3 separate regions of the Homo sapiens genome follow, and regions 1 and 2 are each linked to region 3. The links are contacts of gene promoters, found by promoter capture Hi-C in blood cells and fetal thymus (Javierre and others, 2016). All regions are on one chromosome and are shown on one strand. Each heading gives the region's core, a stretch centred on a gene start or on the middle of the fragment in contact. The rest is flanking DNA. Distances are from core to core; before and after follow the strand shown.

Region 1 (4,075 bases), core at 262-2,761, 530 kb before region 3:
TAGGATACTGTGAAGGAAGGATGCCTATCAGTGGTATGAATAAAGGCTCTGTCTGCCCCAGGTTTAAATCTTTATTCCCCACTCCTTACTAGCAGTATGGCCCTGGAAACTCATGGAATCCCTCTGAGATCGTTTCTTCATTAGTAGAACCAGGATGATAACCATTGGTTCACAAAATGCTAGTAAAGAATTAATAACGGGCTGGGTGTGGTGGCTCACTCCTGTAATCCCAGCACTTTGGGAGACCGAGGTGGGCGGATTGCTTGAGCTCAGGAGTTCGAGACCAGCCTGGGAAACATGGCGAAACACCGTCTCTACCAAAAATACAAAAAATTAGCAGAGCACTGTGGGTGCATGCCTTCACTCCAGCCTGGGCAACGGAATGAGACCCAGTCTCAAAAAAAAAAAGCGAATAACTAATGGCTCCGGTGCTGTGGCTTATGCCAGTAATCCCAGCCCTTTGGGAGGACGAGGCAGGAGGATCACTTAGCCTAAGGGTTCGAGACCAGCCTGGGCAACACAGGGAAACCCTGACTCAACAAATAACATAAAAAATTAGCCAGGCGTGGTAGTGCACACCAGTAGTCCCAGTTACTCTGAAGGCTGAGGCAGGACGATTGCTTGAGCCCAGGAGTTAGAGGCTGCAGTGAGCTGAGATTGCACTACTGCATTCCATCCCGCCCGGGTAACAGAGTGAGACCCTGTCTCAAAAAAATAAAAATAAGGCCGGGCATAGTGGCTCACGCCTGTAATCCTAGCACTTCGTGGGGCCGAGGTGGGTGAATCACTTGAGGTCAGAAGTTCGAGACCAGCCTGGCTAACATGGTGAAACCCCATCTCTGCTAATAAATATGAATATTAGTCAGGAGTGGTGGCACGCGCCTGTAATCTCACTTACTCGGGAGGCTGAGGCAGGAGAATCGCTTGAACGTGGGAGGTGGAAGCTGCAGTGAGCCGAGATTTCGCCACTGCACTCCAGCCTGGGCGACAGAGCACGACTCTGTCTCAAAAATAAATAAATAAAATAAAAATAAAAAATAATAAAGATGAAATATGTAATATGCTGGGCATGGCGCCTGCCCCCAGGAAATGCTAACCATAATTCCCTCCCCTAAAGGGCAAACAAAGAAGATAACCATTCTCCAAAGTCAAGGATGCTCTGAGAACACCAGTAAAAGGAACTCAGGATAATCTCAGCTCTAACTCGGCCAGAGTGGCTCCATCGCTCAAATCGTTCCCTCCTTCAGTGATTGGCTGAGCCTGCCAGAGTCGAACAGCGGAAAGCAGCCCCGGGGCCTCTTGCTGCCCCCAGGTCGGTGCAAGTCGCTTCACAACTCCTTGTAGTCGCCTGATCCTAGCAGTCCAGCTTCCTGCCCTTATGCAGCTCTTGGCTTCGTTCAAACGGACCGCCTTTGCTAGCACCCAATCAGAACGCTCGATCTTCGGCTCTCGTCCAATGAACGCGCGTATTGGGGAGGGGAAAAAAGACGGCGTGAAGCCCAATCGCAGCGCCATTACACTTGAGGGCAAAGAGGTTAGGAAGCCGGCATGGCGCTCCGGTCAATAAAATCGATAGCTGGAAGCTGCCTGTGTTCCAGGCAAAGGCGGTGCGGTAGCAGCGCCGCCATTTTCCCCGAAGGCATCTTCCGGTGCCTTTCACCCAAGTTCGGGCAGGAGTTTCCTGAATAACAGCAAAAGGTTTCCGTTAGCCCCGCGGGCGACCAATTCCGATTCCCTCCGGGCCTCCCCGGCCACGCTCAGCCCTGGTCCGGCAGGGGCTCCTCGATCCCAGGGGCCGCCAGCGCCCGAGGGCCGAGGCCTGGACACGGAAGGCCGTGGCGCCGGCTTCTCGGGTCCCATGGCGCCACCTTCGGCTCCGCTCCCTGCGCAGGGACCAGGAAAGGCCAGACCCAGTCGGAAAAGGGGCAGGAGGCCGAGGGCTCTGAAGTTCGTGGACGTGGCCGTGTACTTCTCCCCGGAGGAGTGGGGCTGCCTGCGGCCCGCGCAGAGGGCCCTGTACCGGGACGTGATGCGGGAGACCTACGGTCACCTGGGCGCGCTCGGTGAGGCCGGCCCCATCCGCTGCCGCGGGGCGCGAAGGGATGCAGGAGCCGGAGAGGGTGTAGGCAGGGAGGCCACGGTCCTGGCAGGCGACCAGGTTGTCAGGGGAGGTGGGCAGGGGCTTAGCAGGAGGTGCCGTCGGGGAGATACTACTCGGCGTGATCTAGGAGCTGGCCTTCTGATTTGTTCTCTTTCCCCAGGGTGCGCAGGTCCCAAACCAGCCCTCATCTCCTGGTTGGAACGAAACACCGATGACTGGGAACCGGCTGCTCTAGATCCGCAGGAGTACCCGAGAGGGCTAACAGTCCAGAGAAGTGAGTGCTAAATAACCACGCAGAGCCTGCAGCCCTCCTATAACGTTCTACCTCTAACGGCTCTGTCCAGAGTTTTGGTTGGGCTAGGGGTGGGTGCCGCGTATTTAGTATATTCATCTTCCCAGCCTCTTGTGTCTGGTGGTGTGGGGCCGGTCCACCACACAGAGATTCCTATGTCAGTCTGCAAGCTGCAGTTTTCCACTGTGTGAATGAATCAGTGGGCTTATTCTTCGTCTTTTTTTTTTTTTTTTTTTTTTGTAGAAACATTGTCTTGCTCAGTTCGGTCTTGAACTTCTGGCCTCAAGCGATCCTCCTGCCTTGGCCTCCCAAAATGCAGGGGTTACTGGCGTGAGCCATTGCAGCCAGCCAGAATCAGTGAGCTTTTAACAGGTGCTACCCTCTGCCTCCTTTCCAGGATCTCTGCCTCTAGCCACCTTTGAGTTGGACCAAAGAGATCCTAAACTTCTCAGAGTTTTCTGGGTTTTGGTTGAAGGGAGCTCATGGGGAACAGCTGCCTGGGATGCAGGGGCCTCTTTCTGCTCTTACGGCAGGATGACCCTTATCAGCGAAGGACATACTGCAATCTCCTCAGAATCCAACAAGGCTCTGCTTAACCCCATTCAGGTAGAAGGGTCCCAGATCCACCCATAGTAGAAGATGGAGCTGTCTGGGCTGGAATTTCAGAGCCAGATTCTTCAAGACCAGGGATAGCTGTCCAAGATTCAGATCTGACCATGATATTTCCTTGCTTAAAACTTTTCAGTTAATTTTTGCCAAGGTTGTTAAATGGCCATTGGTTATATCTAAATCACTTGGGGAACTTGGTAAAAACGCAGGTTCCAGGACCCCATCCCAGAGCTATTCATTCACTCGTGTGAATGTTTAGGAACTTCCATTTTTTAAATAGCCTCAGCTGATTCAGATGTGCATCTAGGTTTGAAAACCGGCCGGCTGGTGGCTCATGCCTGTAATCCCAGCACTTTGGGAGGCCGAGGTGGGTAGATCACTTGAGGTCCGGAGTTCAAGACCAGCCTGACCAACATCGTGAAACCCCGTCTCTACTAAAAAAATACAAAAATTAGCCGGGCACTATGGTGGGCGCCTGTAATTCCAGCTACTCAGGAGGCTGAGGCAGGGAGAATTGCTTGATCCTGGGAGGTGGAAGTTACAGTGAGCCGAGATCATGCCAGTGTACTCCAGCCTGGGTGCCACAGTGAGACTCCATCTTGGGGGAAAAAAAAAAAGAAAAGAAAACCATTGGGTAAAATACAGTCCAAGGTCTTTAACAATGCTAACAGCAGTGGTTCTCAAAGCGTGGTCTCAGACCAGAAGCAGCATTATTTGGAAACTTGTTAGAAATGCACATTCTTGGACCCTACCCCAGACCTGCTGAATCCAAAGCGGGCACTAGGGCCTGGCATTCTGTTTCAGTAAATCCTCCCAATGATTCTGATCACAGTGGAGTTTGAGAACCATTGGCTTAGAGGGCCTTTTGACCCAGTCACTGCTAGCTCATACCTCATAGGTTTCCATATCTTGCCTTACACTCTTTTGTGTGTGTGTGAGACGGAGTCTTGCTCTGTTGCCCAGGCAGGAGTGCAGTGGCACGATCTCAGCTCACTGTAACCTCTTGCTCCCGGTTTCAAGCAATTCTCCTGTCTCAGCCTCTGGAGTAGGTGGGACTACAGGTGCCCACGATC
Region 2 (4,502 bases), core at 1,642-4,141, 690 kb before region 3:
GCCGATGTCACTTTATCCTGGAGCTCGGAGTACTGGGAACAATGAGGGAGCAGATGCTTGGATGGGGGACTTGGTTCCTGAGGTCCCTGAGTGCCCATCTAACCCAAATCCTGCCTGATTCTAATCACACCCCCAAAGCCCCCGGCTCCTCACCTCCAATGAGATGCGGTGGTGTTTCTCCTGCAGCTGAGTGGCCAAGTCCTGCAGTCGCCGGTTCTCACGGCCCAGCTCTCGGGTGTGTGCCTGAGCCGCCTCACTGAGGGGCTCACTGTCCCCTGGGAAGGCAGGGCCCAGGTAAGAGCCCAGCTCAGGGCAATGGGGCAAACAACTAACTCATTCTGGAGTCTGCTATATACCCAGTGTGATCCACCAGCTGTCTTGCCCATTTCTCATGACAAAGCCAGGAGTCTTTATCCCCACTGCACAGAGAAGGAAACCAGCTCAGAGAGGGGAGCCACTTTCCCAGCATGTCCAGGTGAGGGTGGCAGAACTAAGGTGGGAGAAGCCTGTCAACCTACAAGGCCTGAGCCCTTGAAGCTATGCCTTGTGGATCCGCAACCCACACCAAGTGCTCCAGAGGGGCCTCTGGCCAGGAGCCTCTACCGGCATCAACAACTCCTCCAACCCATCTCTCTAGCATTCAATCCCGGAATCAAAGTTGGAACCCCCATCTACAGCCTAACCTACCTCTTCCAAGAACATGGCTGATTTATTCCTTGGGAAATTCTGGCCGCCCTTGGACTCGGGCATTAGGGGAATCAGGAAGGGGTGCCATCAAGATGCAGGTGGGGATGGACACCCCTTCAGTATGGGCACAAAGAACCCACCTCGGCTGTACACTCGCTGACAGAGTTCCTCCACCCGGCGCTGTAGGCGGTCTGAGGCCTCTACCACACGAGACACAGCTGCCTTGGAGAACTCCATTCGGCCTTGCAGCTCCAGCTCCACCTCCTCACTGCTGCTGGCACCCAGTGCCACCACAAAAGCCAAGGCCGGCTCACTGAGAGGGGGCCGCAGCTGCATCAGCAAGGGGTCTGGAAGGAATGGACAGACCCTCATGAGGATAAGAGCAGCAGTTACTACCACTCTGTACCAAGTTCCAGACTGAGCCCTTCAATACTCATGGTTCACTTAATCAACACAACCTATAGTGCACTATTATCTCCATCCTGAAAGTGAGACAAATGAAATTCAGGGAGGTAAAGTAATTTCCTCAAAGCTACAGAGTTGCGTATCACATCCTCAGGGAAGCTTCCTGTACTTTACCAATATAATTAGAATCACACGCACATGCATGCACACACAATCATTCCGTTTCAGGAGCCCCAGTACTTTCTGCTTACTATGTTTATAATTTCCTCCCTTATAGCAAGTGCAACACTCATTTCTAGGAAGCGTCAAATACATATTTAATACTCAACCATAATACTGTTTTGAAACAAATGGGTGTCAAAACATGAATTGCTCTATAAACCAAGTTAGTCAGAGTCTAAAGCCTGTGTTTTTGTGCACTGCACTTTACTGCCCAAACATGAAATCCATTTCGTGAGAAGTAGTAAGATAGGCAATTCAGGGGCCCAACACCAAAGTCCCCTCCTCCCCAGGACTTCTCCCAGAACTTAAGCTCCCCAGATCCCAGCACTCTGGTCCTACCTCTCAGCTCTGATGTCCCCGGCTCTGGGAGAGGAGTCCCATCACATGTTGGCCCCTCCTGGGTCCCAGGTGCCTCAGGCGCTGAAGACAGCTCCCCCTGGCTCTCATGGCATCGGAGAAGGGCTTCCACAGTTTCATCCAGCTGGAAGGAGAAAACATCAAAAATGTTATGAATCCCTTAGTGCTTTCCAACATGATACTCCTTTCCTAGCAGGGGAATCTGGGGATTGGCAGCTGAATCAAGGCCTGGTCTTTGAAAGCAGAAGGTATCCACCTGGGCCCAGTAGCGATTGACGATGAGGAGTGTGGCATCATCTGTGGCCTGCCGCTTCTCCAACTTCTCAATTCGTTCTCGGAGTTCATCTTCACAAGCCTGCCGTTGTTCCAGCCGCTCTGCCAGTTTCTTGTTCTTGAACTGTAGTACCTTCAGGTCCATCTCCTCCTACCAAAGGAAACAAAGGGGCCGACGAGAGCGTCAAGCAGGGCCCACAAACCAATCACAGAGAGAGAAAGAGGAGCAGAGCATCTGCAATGCATGGGAGATGGAGGTATTCCCACACTAACCGCTAACAGAATCTAAGGAGGCTCAGACAACACACAGCGAAAGTGTCTTTGTTGTGAGGAGGCTCACGTTGTTTCTGCCTGTCCCCTTGTAAATCCTTAGTCTTTGACAAGTCACACGCCCCCTGGAAACCTGTTTTCCTATCTGTAAAGGGAAGACAGGCGTCGTGTTCTGAGCTTCTTTCTAACCTTTCTTTCAAGGTCCTGTAACGCGGACCTTGCTAAACTTGGGGAAGTGGGTGTAAGATTCCGCACAGTTTGGCCAGAGAACAGAGGGAGGGCTCTGGGAAGTTCTGAGGGTTAAGGCAAGAGCCCACGAACCGTGGAAGAGATGCCTCCAAGACGAATGGGCTCGATAAGAGTCGTGGTGGTCTTCTCCTCACGACTCAGCTTCTTTTCCGGGGGCCCTGAGCCCCCGTCGCCGGCGGCGCGTTTGTTGCCTGGCCCAGACATGGCCGCGGCGGCTGGAGCGATGCAGGGTCCCCTGAGGGGCGTCAAACGGGAGGAGGCGGTACTTCCGTCACCTGCAGAAGACACAGAGCAGAGATGTGGGAACGGCTGGTGTTCCACAGCCCCAAACACCCTCCACCCTGCACACACCTGCTGGATCCCGTCCCCCCCGGCGCCAGAGCCCTCACCAGCAGGAGGGTCAGCCTAGCGCCGCCATCTTGGATTTCACCGGACGTCACTGGGCGTCACTGGACGCCACTGCCCCCCCCCCAACGGTGCGCAGGGCGCAGGCGCCAAAGGCAGCCCCGGATGTGAGGAAACTTCTTTATCTTCTGCTTCTATTGGTTACGCTTGGTCCCGCCACTCGGGTCCTCTGGCTTCTTCCCAAACACCTCCTCTTTCTCTCGGTGATTGGCCAAGAGGCAGTTCCCATAGTAACTGACACCGCGCTCCCACTTCCCAGCCTGGAGGACAGCACCGGCCCTCGTATTAGCAACCTGGAAGAGAGGGCGCCCAGGTGGGCACTCGCAACTTCTCACGTATCTGCGCGTTCTCTTCGCTCCCACTGGCGTGAGCCTGCGCTTTCCGCCTTCCTTCCCTCACAAGCCCCCTTGGCAACCGTCGCCGTTGAGACGGAGGGAGACGCCCCCACGGATTCGCCCCGCCGCGCCTCTCCGCGCGTAGATTGGCCGGAGCGAGGCGAACGGGCCCGGCCTTGGTAGCCGCCGACCGAGCGCTGGCTGTCCTGGAACCTAGGCGGCGGGAGCCCGGGGCGCCTCGCGGCACGGAAGAGCGGCGAGATGCTCAACCGCAAGACCAGCCACTTTTTGGGAATGAGGGTGCAGTCGGAGCTTGAACATCTCTCCGAGCTGCGGCGGGAAGCGGGGAAGGATCGCAGCTCAGTGCATGGGTCGGCCGCGCGGACGCGTGCGAGTGTGCGGACTCAGTGGACGACGGCGGCGGCGGCGAAAGCGGATGAAGACCCCGGAGCCAACTTGTTTCCGGTGAGGGCGGGACAGTCTGGTCTGCTCGTGAATATTTATAAACCGGCTCCCCCGCAGGCGCCACCTGTCATTATGCTTACTAACGTTCGGGACGTCTCCCGGGCTGCTTGGGCGAGGAGAGGCAGGGGTGTGTGACCCCGGTGGTTACTGTGCTCGCGTAGAGCACCTAGGGCCTGCTGAAGCCCTCCCTCGCCCGCGCCTCTCCTTAGTCCTTGAGATGAGATGGCAAGTTACAGCGGCTTCTCCGGCCTGCTGGAGATTCGCTACGGGCCAGGACACCGCAGCTGCCTTCCCCAATTCGCTTTCTTTCCGCAGCCGCCGCTGCCCCGACCCCGGATCTGCATGTGGTGAGTGTGAAGAGACAAAAATTACACTGAATATTTGCGTTCTTTATTGTCTCCCCAACAGTCCTGTCTGTGGCCAGGGCATCCCCATTTTACAGATGAGACTGAGGCCTGGAGATGCAATTACTCCAGGTGACTGGAAGTTGGCTTTCCAGCCTCTCCAGTCCAAAGAGGAGGCAGTGTGAGAAAAAAAGAGCCAAAGACAGAATGTAAATGGAGTCTCATGGCCGCTAAGGAGTATTGTACAGAGGGGGACACTGAGGGCCACAGGGAGTACTTGACCAAGGTCATACAAGGTAGTGGCAGAGCAGAAAAAAGAATTCAAGATTCCTAACCCTAGGCTTTAGAAATGGAGAGGCTCATAAGAGTTCATTTAGGCCCAGAGAGTTAACGATTTGCATAGTCACACAGCAAGCTGGCAAAAGAGCCCAGCTTCACGCCGGTGGCCAACTCCCAGTCTCACGCACTAGCTGTCACAGCCTTGTCATGA
Region 3 (4,260 bases), core at 1,036-3,535:
CTCTGCTATGAAATGGGGCTAAGTACTCAGCCCACCCTGCGTATTCCTTAGGCTGTTGCAAGGAGCCATGGAGACTGAATATACGACTTCCTGCTATTCTGCAAACTCCAGCATGCTATCTAAGCTTTGTCTACCATCACCACCACACTGATCCAGGGCCCGTGAGGGAGACAATACTTCGAGGTTAAAGAATAGTGCCAGGCAACAACAGGTTTAAGTTCCTAAAAATGCCAATCAGGACTGAGGGAAAGGGGACAACTAAAAACACCATGGGGCTGGTCTGGTCAGCTGGCAAAAGAGAAAAGCCACAGACAGGTGGCGAAAAAGAGGCCGACCCTGCTCATCATCCCCTCACAGGCCCTGTCTGGCTGCAGGTAGTCTATGTGAGGCAGGGCCAGGCAAAGAGCCTGAGGGCCACAGATTCAGGACCCAGCTCTGCCACGTCCTCAGTGGGTGACCTCAGTTAAGTCACCAGACCTCTACGAGTCATGGCTTCCTATTCGATAAAATGCAGCAAATGATTCCAACCTCATAGGATTGCTGGGGGGAAGAGATGGATAGAAGTTTTTTGCCAGTACCGGGCCAGGCCAAATAGTGGCCCTGTAAAGGCCAATGTTTACTGTTCAATAAACGTAGGGTAATTCTGTGGGCTCTTCTGCCACAATTCTCCAGCCTGGTAGAAGCCACAATCACACAGTTCCCCAGAGGAGGCAGGTAATTAAACCCCTGACTGTTCCCCACGCATCTCAGGGCCTCCACTGTTACATTCGTCCTGCTTGGAATGCCCTTCCCTCACTGGCCCTGCCTCCATCAGCTAGCCAAATTATCTTCATCCTTCAAGGCCTACCTCCACTCAAAAGCCCTCCCTGATGGCTTTAGCCCATCTCATTATTGCCCTCTTCCAAAAGAAATAGAATACCTGGTGATTATCAAGCACGTATGCTGTACCAAAACACTGTGCTAACCTCATCTCCAGCACCAACTCACTGAATCTTCACAATCATCTTATTAAGTACTATTAATTCTGCTTTACAAATAAAGACACTTAAGATTACTAACACAGCTAGAAAGCGGCAGAGTTCAGATTCAAACCTAGAGCCATCTCACACTGCAAAACCTAGAGCCTTAACCACTACATCATCCTACTTCCCACAGAACTCTGAACTGGCCTCCCTATCGTGCTTAATTCTACCCTGGCTTACTTGCTACGATTTCTCAGGCTCCCACCCTGAACGTGAATGATCCAACTCCACCTTTTTGCATTATGGCCTGAAAAAGGACAGGACACTAAGAGCTGGCTTCAGACCCCATTCCTTACTTGTGGGTAACTTTGAACATGAAAGTTCCCACCTGTAAAATGAGTACAATACCACCAATCTTTAAGGGTTGTTGTAATTAGAAGACTTTTATAAATCACAGGGTCTTTAACTTTCCTGTCTTAAACTTTTGGTTTTTGGCTGACTCTTTTACCACCTCCTTATTCGAGGCCTCTCCCACAGTTCGGCCCCCCTCCAACAAGCTTCCGTCCCCCGACAGATGGACTTGTTTCCTTGAGTTTCCTAAGTACTTTATGTAACACTCTTACTCCACTGGAAACACATCGTCTAATAAACTTTAAGTGTCTTTATCCACTCTGTCTTCCCCGAGCAGGCTAGCTTTTCCTCGAGGGCAGCGGCTCCATCCTGCTCCTCTCTGGGAAAGCTTCCAGAACGAGGCAAGCCCAAAGTTCTCAGTTGGGTTTGCCCCAGGCCAGAACCCGTGGGCGGCGGCTTGGCCTCCCTTCCCCAGGGCCAACGAGCTCACCTGGCCTTAGCGCACAGGGCCTTGACTTCGCTCTCCTTGATGAGCTCGCAGCGACGCAGCTGCTCGATCTGCCGGTCCAGGTCGCTGATCTCCGCCATGGCCCACCCCCGGCGCGGGTCAGAGTCGGGGCCGCCGCCCCCTCCGCACCGCACAGGGGTCTCCTGGGAAAGGCCAAGACGAGCCCGCGGATCAGTGTCCGTCCGGGGCTCGGAGCGGACAACTCGATTCTAGAGCCGGCCCGGCTCCCCCACCCCCGCCTCCCCTCACATCGGCCCCAGGACCCCCCGGCGTCCAACGGCCTGGCCGCACCCCCGCTAACTCCCGTCGAACCCCGCGGTCCCGCGCTAAGGACGGTGACTTAGAGGAGTCTCGCACTATTACCGCCGCTGCGACTCCGGTTCCGGCTCTCCGGCTCCCTGCCTCCCTCTTTCACTCCGCTTTCGACCGCCGCCGCCGCCGCCGCCGCCGCTCCTACTTCCGGCCCCGCCGCGGAAGCAAAGGAGGCCAGTTCCGCCGCGCGCCGGATGTGGCGTCATACACGCTCCTCTCCTTTCGCAGCGACCCCTGCACCACTTCTCCAGCCTGAGATCGGGAAGGAGGTGGAGGAACCCGGTGGCGGCCAGTGGCAGTTTTGTGGGCTCTGCCGCTGGGCGATGTGGAGGCTATTAGAAACCCTAGACCAGTCCCCTCCCATATCATTTCATAAAAATGTTTAAACAACTGTCTTTTCTTTTTTTGAGACGGAGTTTTGCTGTTGCCCAGGCCGGGGTGCAATGGCACGAACTCGGCTCACCGCAACTTCCGCCTCCCGGGTTCCAGCAATTCTCCTGCCTCAGCCTCCTGAGTAGCTGGGATTACAGGCATGCGCTACCACGCTGGGCTAATTTTGTATTTTTAATAGAGACGGGGTTTCTCCATGTTGGTCAGGCTGGTCTCTAACTCCCTACCTCAGGTGATCCGCGCCCCCACCCACCACCACCCTTCGGCCTCCCAAAGTGCTGGGATTACAGGCGTGAGCCACCGCGCCCGGCCACAACTTTCTTTTTTCTAAATTAGAGACAGGGTCTCGCTCTATCGCTCAGGCTGGAGTCGGTGGGGCTATCATAGGTCACTGTGACCTCGAACTCCTGGGCACAAGCTATCTTCCCGCCTCGGGCCTCCCAAAGTGCTGGGATTACAGGCGTGAGCCACCGCGCCCGGCCATCCCCCATTTCAGCTAGGGAAACAAGCCGAGCTGGGGCTAGGCTTTGTAACTTTATTACACTTTTTTTTTTTAACATTACACTTTTTTTTTAATGTTACACATTTTTGTTACTTGTTTTGTCAGCCTTCCCCACCACAGTCCTTGGAGGATCCAACTTTGTCTTTTTAAATATTGCAGCCCCAGTGGTTAGAATAAGGCCTGGCACGGTAGGCATATATAGATACTTGTTAATACTTGTTCAATGGATGAGGGAAGCCAAGTTCAGATCTCTTCCTGTGCCGTCAGAGAAATATTTGCCGTGGACAACTTCAGAAGTTAACAGATTGGAGTCCACTTTTCCCACGCCAAGCCTGTGCCTCAGTCAGCATGACTTCTCTGATTCCAAAATGGCACTCTTGACATTTCTTAGTTGCTTCCGTTTTTCTTTTTGAGACAGAGTCTCACTCTCTCGCTCTGTCGCCCAGGCTGCAGTCCAGTGGCGCCATCTCGGCTCACTGCAAGCTCCGCCTCCCGGGTTCACGCCATTCTCTTGCCTCTGCCTCCTGAATAGCTGGGACTACAGGCGCCCGCCACCAGGCCCGGCTAATTTTTTTGTATTTTTTAGTGGAGACGGGGTTTCACCGTGTTAGCCAGGATGGTCTCGATCTCCTGACCTCATGATCCACCTGCCTCAGCCTCCCAAAGTGCTGTACCACAGGCGTGTACCACCGTGCCCGGCCTCTTTTTTTTTTTTTTTTTTTTTTTTTGAGACGGAGTCTTGCTTTTTCACCCCGACTGGAGTGCAGTGGCACAATCTCGGCTCACTGCAACCTCCGCCTCCCAGGTTCAAGCGATTCTCCTGCCTCAGCCTCCCAAGTAGCTGGGATTACAGGCATGTGCCACGACGCCTGGCTAATTTTTGTATTTTCATTTATTTATTTTTTTAAGACAGAGCCTTCCTTGCTCTTGTCGCCCAGGCGGGAGTGCAGTGGAGCGATTTTGGCAAACCGCAACCTCCGCCTCCTGGGTTCAAGCAATTCTCCTGCCTCAGCCACCTGAGTAGCTGGGATTACAAGCACCCGTCACCACGCCCAGCTAATTTTTGCATTTTTAATAGAGACGGGGTTTCACCATTTTGGTCAGGCTGGTCTCGAACTCCTGACCTCAGGTGATCCACTCTCCTCGGCCTCGGAAAGTGCTGGGATTACCAGCTTGAGCCACCGTGCCTGGCTTCTTAGTTGCTTTCTATTAAGTTTTGTGCCTTTTTTAAGAGG

The links. The method cuts DNA at HindIII sites, captures the fragments that hold promoters and counts their contacts. A CHiCAGO score of 5 or more calls a contact.
Region 1: a contact is called between the fragment with the promoter of ZNF689 here and the fragment with the promoter of PPP4C in region 3, in 1 of 17 cell types (naive CD8 T cells). The highest score is 6.2, in naive CD8 T cells.
Region 2: a contact is called between the fragment with the promoter of RNF40 here and the fragment with the promoter of PPP4C in region 3, in 1 of 17 cell types (naive CD8 T cells). The highest score is 5.3, in naive CD8 T cells.

What each region holds. Positions count from the first base shown.
Region 1 is chr16:30,607,825-30,611,899 of GRCh38, reverse strand. It overlaps ZNF689 (zinc finger protein 689), which reads left to right and starts at 1,511. Exons shown (of 3, transcript NM_138447.3): 1 at 1,511-2,063; 2 at 2,262-2,375. The coding sequence starts at 1,859. It overlaps LOC124903678 (a long non-coding RNA gene), which reads right to left and starts at 1,426. Exons shown (of 2, transcript XR_007065051.1): 1 at 1,137-1,426. RefSeq lists an enhancer at 515-1,484 and a silencer at 1,772-1,821. The HindIII fragment of the contact is 6,999 bases long and covers 1-4,075 here.
Region 2 is chr16:30,760,711-30,765,212 of GRCh38, reverse strand. It overlaps RNF40 (ring finger protein 40), which reads right to left and starts at 2,891. Exons shown (of 20, transcript NM_014771.4): 1 at 2,853-2,891; 2 at 2,536-2,738; 3 at 1,928-2,095; 4 at 1,654-1,795; 5 at 828-1,034; 6 at 154-275; 7 at 1-32. The coding sequence starts at 2,667. PHKG2 (phosphorylase kinase catalytic subunit gamma 2) reads right to left here. Exons shown (of 10, transcript NM_000294.3): 10 at 4,037-4,502. It overlaps CFAP119 (cilia and flagella associated protein 119), which reads left to right and starts at 3,151. Exons shown (of 9, transcript NM_001014979.3): 1 at 3,151-3,668; 2 at 3,984-4,015. The coding sequence starts at 3,465. RefSeq lists enhancers at 2,573-2,682, 2,803-3,062, 2,550-3,187, 3,143-3,322, 3,913-4,062 and 3 more and a silencer at 3,599-3,828. The HindIII fragment of the contact is 4,015 bases long and covers 1,254-4,502 here.
Region 3 is chr16:30,074,019-30,078,278 of GRCh38, reverse strand. It overlaps PPP4C (protein phosphatase 4 catalytic subunit), which reads right to left and starts at 2,285. Exons shown (of 9, transcript NM_002720.3): 1 at 2,185-2,285; 2 at 1,804-1,964. The coding sequence starts at 1,901. RefSeq lists enhancers at 1,672-1,761, 3,384-3,563 and a silencer at 1,872-2,011. The HindIII fragment of the contact is 10,067 bases long and covers 1,704-4,260 here.